Linked DNA regions of Homo sapiens: region 1 is linked to region 2. The links are contacts of gene promoters, found by promoter capture Hi-C in human tissues and cell types (Jung and others, 2019). All regions are on one chromosome and are shown on one strand. Each heading gives the region's core, a stretch centred on a gene start or on the middle of the fragment in contact. The rest is flanking DNA. Distances are from core to core; before and after follow the strand shown.

Region 1 (2,700 bases), core at 73-2,572, 96 kb after region 2:
TGTATTTTTAGTAGAGACGGTGTTTCGCCATGTTGGCCAGGCTGGTCTCAAACTCCTGACTTCAAGTGATCCAGCCGCCTCAGCCTCCCAAAGTGCTGGGATTACAGGCGTGAGCCACCGCACCCGGCCAAAAACCATTTCTTAAATTGCCTTTTTGTGATCATGTCTGTGTATAAGAATGCAGATGCTCAATCCCACATCTGTATAGTGTTTCTATGCTTCCATTTATCTTTTCTCCATACACCACTTCCCTAGTCTAACACATTCTAAGCACCATGAGGACAGGGACAGGTTCTTTATCTGTCTTGTTCATTGCTATATCCCCAGCTTCACACTTGGAAGATTAATAAATATTGGTTGAATTAATGAAGAAAGAAAGGAAGAAAACAGCAGAGGAAGGCTCATGGGAAATGATTTACCATTTAATAAAGCTTCACACAGAAAATACAAAGGATGAACTTCAAAGAGGAAGAAATTGAAAGAAAGAATGTGTGAGCAGCAAGGACCAATTGTACATGGAGGAACTGAGGAAATGTGGATAAATCAAAGTAAGATGAGTTGGCGGGGGGTGGAGCCAAGATGGCCGAATGGGAACAGCTCCAGTCTACAGCTCCCAGCATGAGCGATGCAGAAGACGGGTGATTTCTGCATTTCCAACTGAGGTACTGTGTTCATCTCACTGGGGATTGTCGGAAAGTGGGTGCAGGACAGTGGGTGCAGTGCACCGAGCATGAGCTGAAGCAGGGCTAGGCATTGCCTCACCCGGGAAGCGCAAGGGATCAGGGAATTCCCTTTCCTAATCAAAGAAAGGGGTGACAGAAGGCACCTGGAAAATTGGGTCACTCCCACCCTAATACTGCGCTTTTCCAGTGGTCTTAGTAAATGGCACACCAGGAGATTATATCCCGCACCTGGCTCAGAGGGTCCTATGCCCACGGAGCCTCCCTCATTGCTAGCACAGCAGTCTGAGATCAAACTGCAAGGCGGCAGCCAGGATGGGGGAGGGGCGCCTGCCATTGCCAAGGCTTGAGTAGGTAAACAAAGCAGCCAGGAAGCTCGAACTGGGTGGAGCCTCCCGCAGCTCAAGGAGGCCTGCCTGCCTCTGTAGACTCCACCTCTGGGGGCAGGACATTGCCAAACAAAAGGCAGCAGAATCCTCTGCAGACTTAAATGTCTCTGTCTGACAGCTTTGAAGAGAGTAGCGGTTCTCCCAGTACGCAGCTGGAGATCTGAGAACAGACAGACTGCCTCCTCAAGTGGATCCCTGACCTCCGAGTAGCATAACTGGGAGGCACCCCCAGTAGGGGCAGACTGACACCTCACACAGCCGGGTACTCCTCTGAGACAAAACTTCCAGAGGAATGATCAGGCAGCAACACTTGCTGTTCACCAATATCCACTGTTCTGCAGCATCCACTGCTGATACCCACGCAAACAGGGTCTGGAGTGGACCTCCAGCAAACTCCAACAGACCTGCAGCTGAGGGTCCTGACTGTTAGAAGGAAAACTAACAAACAGAAAGGACATCCACACCAAAACCCCATCTGTACGTCACCATCATCAAAGACCAAAGGTAAATAAAACCACAAAGATGGGGAAAAAAACAGAGCAGAAAAACTGAAAACCCTAAAAATCAGAGTGCCTCTCCTCCTCCAAAGGAACGCTGCTCCTCACCAGCAACGGAACAAAGCTGGATGGAGAATGACTTTGACGAGTTGAGAGAAGAAGGCTTCAGATGATCGAACTACTCTGAGCTAAAGGGAGTTTGAACCCATGGCAAAGAAGTTAAAAACCTTGAAAAAAAAATTAGACGAATGGCTAACTAGAATAACCAATGCAGAGGAGTCCTTAAAGGACCTGATGGAGCTGAAAACCAAGGCACGAGAACTACATGACGAATGCACAAGCCTCAGTAGCCAATTCGATCAACTGGAAGAAAGGGTATCAGTGATGGACAATCAAATGAATGAAATGAAGCGAGAAGAGAAGTTTAGAGAAAAAACAATAAAAAGAAACGAACAAAGCCTCCAAGAAATATGGGACTATGTGAAAAGACCAAATCTACATCTGATTGGTGTACCTGAAAGTGACAGGGAGAATGGAACCAAGTTGGAAAACACTCTGCAGGATATTATCCAGGAGAACTTCCCCAGTCTAGCAAGGCAGGCCAACACTCAAATTCAGGAAATACAGAGAATGCCACAAAGATACTCCTCGAGAAGAGCAACTCCAAGACACAGAATTGTCAGATTCACCAAAATGGAAATGCAGGAAAAATTGTTAAGGGCAGCCAGAGAGAAAGGTCAGGTTACCCACAAAGGGAAGCCCATGAGACTAACAGCGGATCTCTCAGCAGAAACTCTACAAGCCAGAAGTGAATGCGGGCCAATATTCAACATTCTTAAAGAAAAGAATTTTCAACCCAGAATTTCATATCCAGCCAAACTAAGCTTCGTAAGTGAAGGAGAAATAAAATCCTTTACAGACAAGCAAATGCTGAGAGATTTTGTCACCACCAGGCCTGCCCTAAAAGAGCTCCTGAAGGAAGCACTAAATATGGAAAGGAACAACTGGTACCAGCCACTGCAAAAACAAGCCAAATTGTAAAGAACATCAAGGCTAGGAAGAAACTGCATCAAGTAACGAGCAAAATAACCAGCTAACATCATAACGACAGGATCAAATTCACACATAACAATA
Region 2 (2,700 bases), core at 124-2,623:
TGTAACATAGAATTTCTACAATATAATTTGGAATTCTGAGTGAAAATAAGGGTATGAGAAATACACTAAGTATTTTTATCTCTTGGAGACTTACCATAATTCTTGTAGCAGGAAAGCCTGCAGAATGTTAACAAAACAAAATCTCTGAAAATCCTGACTATATTTTCAGTTGACTTGAAACAAATTTAACCCCTCAATCTCTCCTTAAATTATTATTTTAAATAAGTACTTTTACCCTAAATTTCTTCTTTAACAGACCCAGTATTTTCTTGCAACAAAAATCACACTATTGTGGGATATAGGTAATCTTCTTTTTAAAGATTACATAACTTCTTTCTAAACGATGTCCATGTCTGCGGCTAATTCATAACCAATGTAACTGAAAATAGAAATGGAAATGTTAGAGATTTCCATTTTTTAACAAACATGGGAATTATTTCTCAATTTGAAGAACTGCATCTCAGGAATGACTTCCTGGACAAATTAATCAGAATTATCAAGTAGCAAACATTTCATGCTAAGCCAAAGCCAACCAGGTGAGTCAGTCATATTATAACATGTATATATAACAACGTACAGTAAAGGCAAAGACAAGAACTAAATGACTTTTTAAAAGGCTGTTAAACTTTACTCACTCCCTTAATATTTTCCAGGTTTAACTGACGTATAATGAATGCATGTGATCCCGGAACCCATGGAAGAGTATCTACCATATCGAGCTCTAGCTTGAAAAAAAAAAAAAAGGAAAAAACAAACAAACAAAACAACAACAACAAAAACCTATCTGAATACGTGTTCTGAAAAGCCCACAATAATACCCAATTTATAAGAAGCAAACAACCACAGAACAGAAAACTCAAGAAAGCACAGCCTTCCACCACCCCTCCCCAGCTAGCCCCATTTTTTTTTTTGCTCTTCATTTCCATTCCATAGTTAAATAAGTACACTTATTCCAAAATAAAAGGGGAGAAACCTGTTGGAATGGATTTTTAGAAGATAAACACTATAGATGAAGCAACAATAAGTTGCTCGGAGGAAGTTGTCGACCCATTCATTTACATACAACCAAAAGAAGATAAACCCACATGTATTCCTATCAGTGAAGATGCAACCTGGTAATTTGCAGGGAAGATAGGATCTCAAATCCCAGACAGCTACTCTCCCAAAGAGAAAAAAAATAATGCTGTGGCTCTTCACCGAGGCAGCTTCAGAGATGCAGGCTCCGCAACTCGCGAGGTGCGAAAATTCAAATGAAGCCCTGTCGCTCACAAGTGCGGCATCTCCGAGATGAGGGAGGGCTCGGGGACGGGAAACCCACTCTCAGCCCGCTCCACTTCGCCGAAGAATTCCAAACCACCCCAGGCTCAGCAGTGTGGATTGCTCCGCCCAGAGACCGTGGAGGAGGCAGCAGAGAGGTCACAGAGCACAGCAGGCGGGAGAAAACCGCCTCCCGCGAGGTCCAACAGAAACCACGGAGCTCCGGACACTCGGGATCCCGGGCCGCGGGCGCGCGGCCAGAGCGGCGGGGTGCGAGCGCGGGGGTGCGGACTCACCTCGCGCTTGGGGTGGCCGGGAGCGCGCGCCGCCTCAGTTCCGCGGCTTCCGGCCACAGAGTCCCCGCGCAAAGCGCCGCCGCGTAGCGGGAGGGGCGACCGCGGCAGGCGCTCGGGTTCTTCCTAACCCGAGCCCGCCGCGCTGGCTCCGCCGAGGACGCCAGCAGCTGCAGGCAGCGCTTCAGCTCTCGCCGCCTCGCCATCGTTGGGGCGAGTCGTCGCCGGGTCACTCCCTTATTATGACCTTCGAATCTGACAGCAGGGCCAGCGGTGGCCTCCTTCAGGCTGCCTCTCCAGCCCTTACCAAGATGGCCGCCCCTGTGGGCCGGGGCGCCGAAGCCATCTTGGTAAAGGAAGCGCCTGGGAGCACGCGGCCTGCCCCGGCCCGCCTCGCGACTCAAACACTCTGCAGGGACCCTCCTAAGATCAAATTGGTTCCCCCCGCTGTCCTAAGCCAGAGGCTTACTTTCAGATCGCATGAACGCATTCCTGGACACCAGCCACAGTTGCTAAAACTAAATGGGATCCTGCAGACCCATTGACGGACTGTCATAGCCAACTCAATCACAGTCGAGAAGCATTTGAATACTTACAGCCTATGGCGCTAGGATCCTGGTAGCGAAGAAACTAAACTCTAATTTGAAATGTTGTACAGTACGTATTGAATATTAATGGGAGCACGGCATTGTTCACTGTGTGATCGTTTACTTTTAAAATGATGTCACAGCCCCCTGGTACACACGGTTCTCATCTAAATTTGCATCTTTTTTAACGCTAGGATAACTATGAAAGAGCATACGATTGTGATTCTGAGTTTCTTACTGGATTTGCTTTTTAAACTGCAGAATGAAATTAGTTGTTTCAAGAAGTAAAGTACAGGCATGTCGAAGTAAAATTCAACAATGGGTTGTTGGGCAAAAAGATTATAAAAGTCCTGGGGTGTGCCAGGGTCAAAAAAAAAAAAAAAAGCTTGTCCCTGGGGTTATCTTGGCAAAAAAGAAACCACCACCACAGGTTCTAAATGCAGATAAGACTGGCAGAAAAATGCAGACCAAACTATTCTGCATTTTGAAAGTGAATGTGCCTGTGTGACATTGGAGGAATGTAAAGAACTGTATGTCAAGTGTGGACTTTATCTCCTCAGGCT

What was found. The method cuts DNA at HindIII sites, captures the fragments that hold promoters and counts their contacts. A contact is called where the count stands out against the background at its distance.
Region 1: a fragment that was not itself captured here is called in contact with the fragment with the promoter of NAPEPLD in region 2 in 3 of the 25 tissues and cell types used here (bladder, heart right ventricle and liver).

What each region holds. Positions count from the first base shown.
Region 1 is chr7:103,244,033-103,246,732 of GRCh38, forward strand. It overlaps the pseudogene DPY19L2P2. Among named protein-coding and RNA genes, the nearest start is that of PMPCB, 52 kb to the right of the region's middle. The HindIII fragment of the contact is 4,146 bases long and covers 1-2,700 here.
Region 2 is chr7:103,147,726-103,150,425 of GRCh38, forward strand. It overlaps NAPEPLD (N-acyl phosphatidylethanolamine phospholipase D), which reads right to left and starts at 1,374. Exons shown (of 5, transcript NM_001122838.3): 1 at 1,086-1,374. LOC105375434 reads left to right here. Exons shown (of 3, transcript XM_047421168.1): 2 at 1,293-2,700. The coding sequence ends at 2,095. The HindIII fragment of the contact is 5,120 bases long and covers 1-2,700 here.